3 separate regions of the Homo sapiens genome follow, and all the other regions are linked to region 3. The links are contacts of gene promoters, found by promoter capture Hi-C in human tissues and cell types (Jung and others, 2019). All regions are on one chromosome and are shown on one strand. Each heading gives the region's core, a stretch centred on a gene start or on the middle of the fragment in contact. The rest is flanking DNA. Distances are from core to core; before and after follow the strand shown.

Region 1 (4,210 bases), core at 176-2,675, 1.2 Mb before region 3:
CTTCCATGTCCTGACGCAGAGATTGCCCATTTTCAGCGCTGAGGGGAACTCTTGTCAGGTGCGTCAAATAGGAGGAGGATGCAGGATCGTCACGTAACAGAGCCCAGAGAGAGGCAACAAGACCCAAATCTTCCCAAGAGGAAACTGAAACAGAGGTCCATGAAAACCACTGGGAAGAAGGTACGGGAAGCTTTGAAGAAGAACCAGGCAGAGCTTCCAGCAACTAGAAACACGACTTCAATCAAAACATAAGTGACGGGGTTAGAGGGGAATTGTGTCTAGCTGAAGGGAGAATCTGCTGGCATTTGAAGAAATTGCTCATGGTGCGGAGAAGCCTGGTGGAGACGGGAACTAGGAAGGGTGGCTACAGACCTGCAGGCCAGGGCGCCGTGTCCCCATGTCCCCATGTGTGTCCCTTACCCTGCACACGCGGTAGCACATGAGGCTCAGGGAGATGCTAGGGGTACCCTGGGTGGGCAGGGTGAGCCACACGTGCCCAGTTTGGAGCTTCTGAGGTCCGGTGCTCCCATCAGGAGACCAGACCCCTGTCTGTGAAACAGCAGCAAAACCTCATCGCAGGGGCTGACATCTGAGAAGCCTCCTAGGAGGCCCCCCAACTCCTTTCGAAGGGCAGGAGCACCTCTGCTCTTCTCCTTCCAAACCAACAGGCTAGTGTGGGCAGAGCCTGCACCATGAGAAAAGGAGGGGACTGACTTGTGTTTGGTAAAGAGATTACTCAGATGCATCACTTTTAGAGGATTTGCACAAAATGATGTAATAACATGTCAGCAGGGGCAGTTGGTGCTTGTCGTCAGAAGTGAAGACGATGACGGTGGTGGCCATTCCGGGCGGTGTCCATCCTGCTGCCCTGTCCGGCAGCACAGCATCCTTCTCCCATCCTGTGGGCACCTTTCTGGTATTTTGCCCCCTCCTTCTTCTGGCTCCCCATTCCTTCCTCGGCCTTTTGCAGCCTGGTTTATGAGACTCAACCAGGAGGAGAAAGCATTCTCTGAAAGTACCTTTGGATTAGAATGGGACCGCCAGGGAGAGAAGCCCAGACGGCAGGAAGTGGATGTAGGAAAGTCTTCTGGGGGGGCTCTCCTGGGATGAGGTTCACAGGGACTGTGAGTGAAGAAAGTACATGAAGAACGTGATTACCTACAACAGCCCCAGCCAAGCACAGCTGTTCACGTTGGGCCCATTTTCTAGGAGTGTGTCTAAGTGGGTGTGAAAGGAGCTGGCTTCACTCACAGACGGCCCCCGTTGCCCAGCTGCCGGGGAACATGCGCATGTGGTGAGGGTGGGCGCTGGCCAGCTAGGTGGGGATGAGTGATAGAGTCTGTAAACACGGTCGCAGGAGAGGGCCGGCTTGGCTCATTGTAAGGCAGATCTGGAGGCCCTTCCCAGCTGAGCAAACACCCACTGGGGACATTGCTGGTGCTGAAACCCCAGGAGGAACCAGAGTAAACATGATGGCCAGTTATTAAAATATGAAGTCACATCATCATTTAGGATTACGCTTCAGCATCCCCGAGTGGTGTCTGGAAATAGAGATGGTGACTGTTGGTAGCAACGTTCTCAGGTTGCTTTTGAAGCTGTGTCTGCACGGAGTTTCAGGTGCAGGCTTGGAAACAAATTAGAATCTGTCTCGGTGGGAGTGAGTAGCTATGGGTTCTATTTTATGAACACTTTCCAGGGCAGCCATTTTATACCAGCCCAAAGCAATTACAGCTGAAGAGAGAAACTTTCCAAAGGACCTCTCCCAGGATGTCAGTTACCTCATGTCATAATTAAATCTTTGCATATTTCAAACCTTGACTTTCTGTGCCCAGATCAGCACGACTTGAGTGCTTCCATGAGAAACTATTTTGCATTTTTCCTTTTGTTTAGCTGTGTGGAAATTTGAGTTCTGTAAAATGCTTATTATAAACTGGGACTTCATTTCTAAAAACTTGAAATACGCTTTCTAAAATCTCCTGCAGTTAGGCAGTTAGTAATTTTTTTTTTTTTTTTTCTGAGAAGAGTTTCGCTCTTGTTGCCCAGGCTGGAGTGCAGTGGTGCGATCTTGGCTGACTGCAACCTTTTGCCTCCCGGGTTCAAGCAGTTCTCCTGCCTCAGCCTCCCAAGTAGCTGACATTACAGGTGCCTGCCACCATGCCCGGCTAATTTTTATATTTTTAGTAAAGATGGGGTTTCACCATGTTGGCCGGGCTGGTCTTGAACTCCTGACCTCAAGTGATCCACCCGCCTCAGCCTCCCAAAGTGCTGGGATTGCAGATGTGAGCCACCGTGCCTGGCCACGTTAGTCATTCTTTTTGTGTCAATCAAATGTTACAGAAAATGTACAAGATTTTAAACAATCAGAAATCTGTAATGCTTTGTGTTTCCTGTGGCACTGGGGCTGGCAGCACATCACTGGCTCTTAGGTTGCAACAGTGACTCCTACCTCGGCCAGGGCGGGGTGGTGACGCTGGTGCTGGAGGCCAGCTCTCAGCTTGGGTTCCCCAGAACCGTGCCCATGAGGAGCCACATCCAAATGTCATGACTTGCCACAGACTCACCTTCCTGTTACCCATGGCAGGGTGTTGTAGGAGAATTAAATAAGATACTCCAAGAGCTGTGCCTACTAAGATCCCCCTGAAATTGGGCAATAAATCTTAGCAATTAATTAGTAATGGATTGGCACTAGGAAATCATAAGATTTAGGATCTAGACTCAGACCCTTGGGTTATTACTGCCTGATATGTAACAGGGGAGTGAGGAGGTCATTTCAGATGGGTAGCACCTGAACCCTTATGTCCTTGTTAGGGAAAAGATGGTAACCATTCAATGCACATTGAAGGCCAGAAGTGGAGAGTAGACTTCCTAAACAAAGGCGAGCATGATGACGCAGAGGTTGCTATCATCCAGCATGGCCTTCATCCACCATGCTGCTCCCTGGCACATTGGCCTTTCCCTATGGAGACACCATCCTGGAACCCTGGGCCAGGCTGCACAAGTTCGCACCCATCACAGACCTTCTCTAAGCCTGTAAGAGGGGAGGGACACATGCCCCCACCATCATGAGAGTTGGGTCGGGGGCTGTGTGCGGACCTTGGGGCAAGGAGCTGGCTGAGCAGGTGTGAGTCTGCAGCTCCCGGGGCCAGGCTCAGCCGCTATGCACCTCGCTCGGTGCAGGGGGGTGTGACTCAGCAGGAGTGCGTTGCTTTGGGACTTTATTTTCAGGAGAAGCTTCCAGGGGGGAAGCCCAGAGTAGTGGGTGAAGGAGCTGAAGAAAGGTGGGTTTTGGTGACTGCTACGGAGAGGATGAAAGGGGGCTGGAGACACCCACAGGTCTGTTACTCAGGGAGCATTAGGAGGTGGATTGTGTCCACAGAAGTGCAGGGAAGATGAGGAGCACGTGGGGCCCCTGGAGCTGGTGAGAGGAAGGGACCAGAGTCTCCCTTGCACCCCAGAAGAAGCCAGCCCACCTGGATGTTGGCCTTCTTTGTCCAGAACTGGGAGGGAACACACGTCTGTTGCTGCGAGCCACCTGGCCTGTGGCCTTTGTGACAGCAGCCCCGGGAGACTAATGGGAGGCCCTGCTCTGCTCTCGGCACAGCTGCTGGGGTCCTGCTTCCTCTCTGAGCCCTGACAGGAGTGGCCCGGGAAAGGCTTGGGGCGCTGGCCTGGGGAAGGCTTGGGGTGTGGTATCCGGGAGCAGGTCCCAGGTGTGCATAGGACTTGCTCAGCTCTTGGCTTTCTGCGTCTCTTCAGGAAGCTTTGTTATGTTGCATGCAATGTGCCCAGCACATAGTAGGTCTCCACATGAAGAATGTCACAGCACTGGGCCACCTGCAGGCCATATGTCACCGATGAAGAAACTCCTGAGTTATTTTATGTTTTCTTTTCTCTATATAAGTATATTGCACACGTGGCCTGGCCACACACATGTGCTCCTGGCCATGTGGGTCAAGTGGTCATCCTGTTAGACTGTGCAGCCCTACCCAGTGCAAAGCCCAACCCAACTGCTAAAGGCTCAATGACTTCACGGGCATTCATGATCCACGGAGTCCGGGATAATTAAATATTCAGCCCCCGACCCCATGGACATGTGGACCATTAGACACATTTCCCATGAACGCTTCTGTGTGAGGCACAGAGAAGCCACAAACCCACCTCCTGCTCTGGGAGCTTAGGATCAAGTTGCAAAGGTCACACGTCTATAGAT
Region 2 (4,576 bases), core at 97-2,596, 1.2 Mb before region 3:
GTGCACATATGTGGTGCAAAAAAACAAGATTTTCAAATTTCACGGGTAAGAAAGCTTAGGTTCATATAAGAAGTGATTGACAAAAACGTTATAGGGAACAAGAGAAAGGGAAGAGCATGTTTTCTGTTTTGAACTTGTGTTCCTTGTGAAATAACTCATGAAAGCTTTAGAGGGAAAGGAGGAGTGGAGGAGGGGTGTGTGTGAGAGAGAGAGGGGAGGAGGAGGGAGAAAGAGAAAGAGAAGGGGAGAGAGAGAAGGAGAGGGGGAGGGGGAAGAGGGAGAGAGAGCGGGAGAGGGGAAGAGAGAAGGGGAGAGAGAGAAAGGAAAAGAGCGGCAGGGAGTGGGGGAGAGGGGAAGAGAAGAAGGGAGAGGAGAAGGAGACGAAGAGAGAGAAGGGAGGGGGAAGGAGAAGAGAGGAAGAGCAGGAGAGAGCGGGGAGAGGGGAAGAGAGAAGGAGGGAGAGAGAAGGAAAGGGGGAAGGAGAGAGACAGGAAGAAGGAGAGGAGGAGAGGGAGAAGGAGAGGAAAAGAGGGAGAGAGAGAAGAGGGGAAGAGGGAAAGAAGAGGGGAAGAAGGAGAGGAGTGGAGAGGAGGAGACAGAGAAAGAAGGAAAAGGGGAGGGAGAGAGACAGGGAGAGGGGGGAGGAAGAGGGAAAGAGGAGGAGGGAGAGAGGGGGAGAAGGGGAAAGAGGGAGAAGGAGAGGAAGAGCAGGAGAGAGGAGGAGAGAGGGAGAAGAGAGAGTGGGGAAGAAGGAAGAAAGCGGGAAGACAGAGTGAAGAGAGAAGGGGAAAGGGGCAAGGAGGAGGGATATGAGAGACATGATAAAGCTGACTTATGAGATGGGGTTCCGTATTAGGGAGGAGACCTGGTTGCTGGCCACACTGGACTGGTGTTGCTGTAAGGCCTTGTCTCGGGGCCTGGTTGCCTCCTGAGGTCCGTGCTGCTCAGGGTGGAGTGGGTCCCGGCGAGGGATCTGGGGGCTCCTGCCTGCAGCAGATTTGCTTTTCTTCGCTGCAAGTGAAGGTGGTTTGCAGTTGTGCCTTTCCCTCTGCTTGGCAGATAATGCAGGATTGTGAACCGCAGCTCAGGGCCAGGCAGGGTGAGGCCCCTCTGGTCAGCATGCCCCAGCTCAGGCTCAAGCTTCGGCCTCTCCTGTGAGGACCGGTGCAGGGATGGTTTCAGCCACAAGGCAAGGCACTGCTCAGGATATTTTTCCTAAAGAAACTGCTGGAAGCAGTTGCTGGCCTTGGGACAGGTGCTGGCTCAATGGATTAGGAACTTGTGAGGTCGTCGCCATCTAGTGAGGAGATGCTGGAACGTCCCTGTGGGCTGCTGTGGCCGACTCACCGAGCCACGAAGCCGGTGCTGCGTTTGTCTCACGCCCTTCACCACGGCAGAGATGAAGAGCTAGGATGAGTTATTGTCATCCTTCTAAGAATGTGTGCTTTCAGGCTCACCAGGCAGGTCTCTCCAGGTAGCTCCTCGCTTTTTTAAAAAGGAACACACAAACACCTTTGAGGAAGGCAATGCCAAGAAGGCACTGGCAATTGATGGGGCACGTGGTCGTGGAATCAGTTCTGAAGAACACAGTGCTGAGTGGCATTGTGGAGCCTGGCACGGGCCTGGCGAGCACTGCCTAGGTGGGTGAGCACTGTGCCTGGGGAGGCAAGCACTGTGCCTGGGCAAGTACTGTGCCTGGGTGAGCACTGTGCCTGGGCAGGCAAGCACTGTGCCTGGGCGGGTGAACACTGTACCTACATGGGTGAGCACTGTGCCTAGGTGAGTACTGTGCCTGGGTGAGCGCTGTGCCTGGGTGAGTGCTGTGCCTTGGTGAGCGCTGTGCCTGGGTGAGTACTGTGCCTGGGCGGGCAAGCACTATGTCTGGGTGAGTACTGTGCCTGGGTGAGTGCTGTGCCTGAGTGAGCACTGTGCCTGGGTGTGTATTGTGCCTGGGTGAGCTCTGTGCCTGGGTGAGCACTGTGCCTGGGCGGGCAAGCACTATGTCTGGGTGAGTACTGTGCCTGAGTGAGCACTGTGCCTGGGTGTGTGTTGTGCCTGAGTGAGCGCTGTGCCTGGGTGAGCACTGTGCCTGGGCGGGCAAGCACTATGTCTGGGTGAGTACTGTGCCTGGGCAAGCACTGTGCCTGGGCGAGGACTATGTGTGGGCGAGCACTGTGTCTGTGGGGTTGAGCACTGTGCCTGGGTAAGCCTGGGTGGGTGAGCGCTGTTCCTGGGTGCTCAGAACCTGGACTTGGTCCTCCTGCACACTCGCCTGGGACTGGTAAACTGTGGACCTTGAGCAATAGTGGAGGAGAGGAAGCGTCAAGCATGCATCACATCATTGTCAGAGAAGGTAGTGACACCCAGAGGAGAAAAGCCAGGGGAAAATGTCACATCAAAGAAAGACACAGGCTGTTTCCTCTGGGCCAAGCGTGGGCTCTTTAGAGGAAACCCTGCCCTGGAAAGGGCTTCCTCTCAGATAAAGGAGCTCCCCAAGGCTGCAGGTGTGTCCTGAGTGGTGAAGCAGGTGCATTCCCAAGGAGCTGCAGAACAGAGGTTCTGCGCCGGTGCCCCAGTGAGTCAGGGCACAGAGGCTGGGGACTCGCTCCCCACCAGGCCCTGCACAACAGCCGGTAGGGGAGGGTGGGGGGAGGAGGGGGAGGGCAGGCCGGCCCCACCTCTTCCGGTCAGTGCTGGAGGACTGCCGCCCAGTAAGAAGGGGTTAGCACAAGGGGACTGTGACCCTACACCTGGTGAAGGTGGTCAATTGTATATGTGGCTTTCACCAGCGTTTTTAAAAGGCCCACATTGGACTGGGATGGAATGGGGAGGCCCGCTTGCCTTGCACACTAAAATTGCCTCTGATATCAATTGCAGTTCACAAACCTGGGCTCAGTTTTCCCACCTAGAAAGTGGGTATCAAAGTTCTGTCCCAAGCACCTCGGAGCCAGTGGCATGGGCTGGACACTGATGGGAGGGGCGCACTCTCTGTTTGGAGCAGGATACAGACTCCAGGTGTGGACGGAGGACAGGCTGCTTTCTGCCTCTTGTCTGAGGGGTTCGCTCCGGGGTTTGTTCCTTGCCTTTCCACACCCCCGTCTTCTCTGCCAGCCTAGAGATGTCAGTCAGGTCAGCACAATGCGGCATCTTCGAGAATTTGGAGTCTGTGAAATCTAGTTTAGAAAAGTTCTGGTTGAGCCTGTGTTGTGTCTACACTTTGAATCAAACTCCAGGTAGAAGGACAGCAGCACAACTCAAACTGAGAGAAGCCGCAGCGTTCTGGGAGAAACGCAGCCATCGTCGGAACAAATGGCTTCACCAGAGCATTGCAGGGCATCTTTGAGCATTGCTGTGTGCTCCTGGGAGCTACTGAGGCTGAGGCCAAATAAATAGCTATTTATTTATAAGGGGCTTCCTCACCTGGCGGGAGGACCCCTTCCAGGATGGGGTCCCTTCAAAAGAGTGCCTGCTTGGCCAGAGGAAGCAGCCTGCATCTTTCTTTCATGTGACATTTTCTCCTGACTTTCCTAGACTGATGCCACCTTTGGGAACTGTCTGGATTCAGTCCTTTATGAGCCCATTACAGCCTTGAAGCCCTGAAAGAGCTAAGGCCACTTATGCTACATGGCCCAGGCTCTGCAATACAGTCTATTTACTTGCTGTCATTTTGAAGAATGTGGAATAAAATGATTAAATTCTGCTTTCTTCTGTGTTTTCCGAATGTGCAAGCTAAGCTAATTATTATAGTCCAGGCGTAGTGGCTCATGCCTGTTATCCCAGCATTTTGGGAGGCCAAGGCGGGTGAATAGGTTAGGAGTTCAAGACCAGCCGGGCCAACAAGCTGAAACCCCGTCTCTACTAAAATACAAAAAGAATTAGCCAGGCATGGTGGCGGGTACCTGTAATCCCAGCTACTTGGGAGGCTGAGGCAGGAGAATCACTTGAACCCAGGCGGTGGAGGTTGCAGTGAGCCAAGATCGTGCCACTGCACTCCAGCTTGGGCAACAGAGCGAGACTCCATCTCAATTTAAGAAAAAAAAGCAAACAAACAAACAAAGAAAACTAATTGTTACAGAGTCTCGAATTTTTCCTTCTTCATTGCTTCCCAGTGTATCAGTAAGGTGATGCTTTTAGCCTTTTGTTTACCAAAACTGAATTGACGTGGATAGAAATTTAAATGAGTGAGGCTGAACCCTTGTAGTTAAGGATGGCTGGATGGACACGGCTGTATGTCATTTTCTTCCACACTGGCTGCACTTTGCACCCATGTCCTCCCAGTGGAAGAGCCTTGAGAAGTTTTTGCATGTGGAGTCTCTTTCGTAGCCGGCAGCTCTCTGCCCTCCTCCAGCTCGCCAACTTTTTGGCGTGTCTTATGCAGGGGGCTGCTCTTTGTCAGACCCCTCAAGCCTTTTGGAATATTCCCCTCCCAGAGTTTCATTTCTGTCTGCCTCTCTTTGAATTTCTCCCTCTATTTCTATTCTGCACCCAGGTGAATTTCACCCCAAACATTTATTTGCTTTCCTAACTTAAAGCCTTACACTTTATTTAGAATTATAAATTTATTTAGTTATATGCT
Region 3 (4,630 bases), core at 1-2,500:
CAGCAGGTTGTCCCTGTGGGTGAAGATCCACTGAGGGGGACCGCCAGCTTCCTGAGCACAGGGCAGGCCAGAGCAGGACAGGCTGGGATGGAAAATGAAGAATCAGTGCTTTAGCCGACAACAAATGGGAGCCGTTTACTGTTTAGTCACTATGATTAGTGTTCACTAGTACTCATTTCTCTTCGTCTAAAAAGTGGCCAACACCATCTCTTTTCCACAAGCACTCGGGAGAACATTCATATTCAATTGCCTTCCTAAGACCCAGACGGGGCAGCGCTCTCCACAGGCCACCAAAAGGTGTTGCCTGTTTGGTTTCATCAGTGATTATCTGTGGCAGCAAGACAGGAAGTTGGAAATCAAGTACCTCAATTAAGTCAAGGCTGACCGTGGAATTAGAGAACAAGTGTTTGTTACCCCGGCCAGGTCACCCTAGGGAAAACAGGCATTCTCCGGGATTGAAATGGTGGTGTTTGTGTGGTAAATAGTTCTCAGTCCAGTTCAAAGCCAGCAGCATTAAGGACACGCCACCGCCACCGGGAGCTGGAGACCAGGCGAAGCTGAGCTCCTCTGTGGTTCACCAACCCCTCAGGCCGCCTAAGTGTCTTCTGCTGTCGCAGCTTTGGGGACAGAGGGGTTTCGGAAACAGGGGCCTCTTGTCTGCACCCTCCCCTCCCACTGACAGGCTGGCAGCCCAGGGCAGCCACCTGAGGAGCGTCCCTGTGTCTCTCCATCTGCAGAGCAGGAAAAGCCTGCGGGTCGGTGGCGCCACGCTGGGGCGAGACCCAGCTTCGGCTCAGGAGATCTCCCACCCAGCCGGACTCCCGCTCTCTGCCCGCGGCCCCCTCCCACACTCCCACCTCGCCCCGCGATCTCACTGCCCCATCGAGGCTTCCGGGCGGAGGAGAAAAGTTTTCCGGCAGGAACCCGGGAAGGAAGCCCTGGGACCCTGGCTGAAACTCCGGGTTTCCCCAGTGCCGAGTCCCTTCCCCGCCGCGCCCAGCGCCTGCGCCCCGGGAGGCGGAAGCAACAGGGGGGTTCCTCCCCGCGGCCTCTGACCTCTGCCCTCTGCCCTCTGCCCCCAGGGTCTGGGGCCCGGGCGGAGGCGCGAGGGGGCAGGGCCGGCGCGCGGGTGCGAGCGCGGGTGTGGGCGCGGGGCCGGCGGGGGCTGCGGCCGCGGGGCGCATGCTCACTTGCGCCGGTGACGTGCGCGCCCGGAGCAGGGGCAGGAGCCAGCGGGGCCCGGAGGCTCCAGAGGGCGGCGGGCAGGGGAGGAGGAGACTCGGGAGGAGCAGAGCGCAGGCTCCGCCGCGGCCGGGGTGCTCCAGCCGAGCCCAACCGAGCGGGCGGACCGACGGGGAGAGAGAAGGCGCCAGAGCGCGCGCGCGCGGCCCCGAGCAGCAGCCTTGCCGCCAGTGGAGCAGCTGCCGACGCGCGGGGCCGCGGACCCAGCATTCGCCGGCCGGGCCGGGCATGAGCGCGGAGGGGCCGCGGCCGCCCCCTGCACCGCCCGGCGCGCCGAGGCCGTGACCGGAGCGGGGGGCGCGGCCGCACTAGTACCCCGGAGCCCATGGGCGCGCCGAGCCGGGCGCGGGGGCGCTGAACGGCGGAGCGGGAGCGGCCGGAGGAGCCATGGACTGCAGCCTCGTGCGGACGCTCGTGCACAGATACGTGAGTGCTCCCGGCGCGGGCTGGGGGACCCGGGGACCAGACAGACGCGGGCCGGCCCCGCAGCCCGGACCCTGTGGCCGGTCCAGCCCCGGGGTCCCGGGAGGTCTCCGATGTCTGGGACTCGGACCGCCCCCGGGGACGAGCGGGATGCTGGGGAGGGGCCTCGGAGTTGACACCCTGGGGCTTCCGACGGGGTCTAGGTGGGCACAGCGCGGGGCCCCAGCCCCGGGCGGCCACCTGCTCCCTGGCCGCGGCCGCCTGGCGCCCCCTTCCCGCCCGCAGCGCCCTGGGGGTCCCTCGGAGAGGCTGGCTGGGGTTCGAGCTGTCCCGGCGGACCGGGCGCCCGGAGGGAGCCAACTTCGACCCCGCCGGGGCCCGGGTCTGGGGAGGAACCTTCAGATGCGGCTTCCGCGCAGCCGTGTCTGTAAGATTAAGGGATTGGGAGGAAGCGTTACACTTCTGCAGAAAAAGGTAGCAATTGTGTTTGTTCTTTAACACCCCTGGGGGATTCAGAAGCGGAGTTTGGAATCTTTTTATTTTTTACCTTAAAGTAACCAATTAGATCAGAAGTCCGGGGTCTTCTTGGGTTCCTCTGGAATTTGCCCCTTCAGTGATAAGCAAGTGAAGAGCTCAGGAGGGAAGACTCGGAAGGGGAAAAGTTGATTTTGTTTTACACCAGAGGAGGGGAAACCGGAATCCCTGGCGTTAGGTGTAAAAAGGGGTGTGTGGCCGGGCGCGGTGGCTCACGCCTGTAATCCCAGCACTTTTGGAGGCCGAGGCGGGCGGATCACGAGGTCAGGAGTTTGAGACCAGCCGGACCGACATGGTGAAACCCCGTCTCTGCTAAAAAATACGAAAATTAGCCGGGCGTGGTGGTAGGCGCCTGGGATCCCAGCTACTCAGGAGGCTGAGGCAGGAGAATCGCTTGAACCCGGGAGGCGGTGGTTGCAATGAGCCGAGATCGAGCCACTGCACTCCAACCTGGGTGACAGAGCGAGACTCTGTATCAAAAAAAAAAAAAAAAAAGGGTGTGTGTGTGTGTGTGTGTGTGTAGGAGAGGAAGAAAACTGTCCCAAGCACAGCGTTTCCTGCCACTGTCTTGCACAAGAGGCTTCATTGTTCCATAGAGGCTGGCGGTCACTGGTCAATCACAGGTTCGAGAAGTCGCATGCACCGGGTTTGATACTAGAGAGGGCAGTATTATGGGAACTTTGTTCTTTCCCGGCATAGGAATTACCTCAGGCAGCCTTTCATATTTATGAGCCTTCTTTAAATAGGAGACCTTGGCCAAAGATAGATAGGTTTCTTTTCAGTGGGGGATGCCAGATCAATGCTTTCCCCCGGATTTATTTATTAACCAAAAACCTCGGAGAGTCAAGGAGACTTGAGTGCACCTTACATCGTTTCCTGATCTCGGGGAAGCCTTAGGAAGGTCAGCCTGACTTACTTAAGTGGAGAGAACTCACCCCTGGTGATTCTGATGATTCCGATGCTAGATCTTGAAAGGCTTGGCTCCAGGAGCCTTGTGTTACTCCCTCACTGGTGCTCGAGCCCCCAGTTCAAATCCTAATGTGAGTGGTAAACCTGTGTTTCACTGTGGTAACGTTATAGAAGACCCAATCACAGTGACTATAGGTAACCTGCAGTGTAAGAGAAATGCTTTATTGGGCGGAAGCTTCTGTTCTCAGTTGTGTCGCTCAGAAGTGTGGGTCCCTAGACACCTTATTTTCCTGCTTTGTTTCCTTCGAGCGAAATGGAAGAGGGAAGGGACTAACACTCACTTTGCCCGCGGTGTTCCCAGTTCATTCCGTTCCCTTCTAACACTCAGTGTTAAAAAGGAGGGTCACGTTGTGGGGCTAATGTGCAGCCTCTTTCCATAGAAATGAGAGATGGATGGGCCAGCCCGGCTCACCCTTTGGAGAATCCCCCCTTCCCAGCCGGTTTCTGACCCCTTCATCTTGGGAGGGGGACAGACAGACGTCCAATTTTGATGCTTGACTCCCTTTCTCCAGGCCTTCAGCTGTTTTCTGTTATATAGATCTATATAAGTGTTTGCGTAGCTTGCATTTTTAATTCCCCTTTGCTGTATTATTACGCTTATGGCATCACATTTTCTTTTAATCTAAGCGGTAAATATTCTTTAGTGAACTTTTCCAGCATATACATTATTGGATAACGTCTCGGGAATACGAGTTGTGGGATAATATTATTTCTGTTTTTCTCATTCCACCTGTGTTTTTTGCAGTGTATTCATCTGGCTACCTCACCCATATTTACACACAGAGCCATTCATCTCTATCATTTTAAGTTCATGTCTATGGTATTAAACTAATTTGACTTTTTCCAGAAACAGTCATGATCTGTTTTCTTGTAATTGCGTTATCGTCCACTATGTAGGACTAAATTATATTTCCTTTTGCTACAGAAAAAAGAGTCTGGGATTGAATACTCATATTTCCTCATGGTTTCCTTATGTGACTTACTTTATTAAAAAGGATAGATAAATAGACCCTGTTCCTTCTTGGTGTTCACATAGTCAGAATTCCTGGGACAAAGAAAGCTTTCCAGCTCCTTCTGATGTGTGAGGGTGGCTAAAAGATAAAGAAGTCCTTGGAAAACATTGCTGTAGGCATTTTATTGTGGATTAACCCTGGAGAGATAGCAGAGGCAAATGAGTGAGAGAACAGATGAAGGTTAGGCCAGGGTAGCCAGGTACTCCACACTGTGTGTTACTGGTGGTTTGGGTGTTTGGATGGACCGGAGCCATGCAGAGATACTTTGTATTTGTAAATGGTGCCGTGTTTGTATACCATGAGGAGTGCTTGTGCTTATGGGGTAGTGTATGCTCCCTGGGGTGATGTATGTGCTCTGGGGGGCGTGGGGAAAAGCGTGTGTGCCGTGGGGTAGTGTATGTGCTGTGGGGTAGTGTATGCTCCCTAGGGTGATGTATGTGCTGTCGGGG

What was found. The method cuts DNA at HindIII sites, captures the fragments that hold promoters and counts their contacts. A contact is called where the count stands out against the background at its distance.
Region 1: a contact is called between a fragment that was not itself captured here and the fragment with the promoter of ATP11A in region 3, in 1 of the 25 tissues and cell types used here (dorsolateral prefrontal cortex).
Region 2: a contact is called between a fragment that was not itself captured here and the fragment with the promoter of ATP11A in region 3, in 1 of the 25 tissues and cell types used here (lymphoblastoid cells).

The regions. Positions count from the first base shown.
Region 1 is chr13:111,479,854-111,484,063 of GRCh38, forward strand. No RefSeq gene overlaps it. Among named protein-coding and RNA genes, the nearest start is that of LINC02337, 110 kb to the right of the region's middle. The HindIII fragment of the contact is 4,140 bases long and covers 1-3,495 here.
Region 2 is chr13:111,459,415-111,463,990 of GRCh38, forward strand. No RefSeq gene overlaps it. Among named protein-coding and RNA genes, the nearest start is that of LINC02337, 130 kb to the right of the region's middle. The HindIII fragment of the contact is 5,092 bases long and covers 1-3,892 here.
Region 3 is chr13:112,688,788-112,693,417 of GRCh38, forward strand. ATP11A (ATPase phospholipid transporting 11A) reads left to right here and starts at 1,251. Exons shown (of 30, transcript NM_015205.3): 1 at 1,251-1,668. The coding sequence starts at 1,630. It overlaps LOC102725228 (a long non-coding RNA gene), which reads right to left and starts at 1,028. Exons shown (of 2, transcript NR_187633.1): 1 at 876-1,028; 2 at 1-82. RefSeq lists enhancers at 88-605, 2,904-3,405 and silencers at 854-1,783, 1,804-2,043. The HindIII fragment of the contact is 4,763 bases long and covers 1-3,785 here.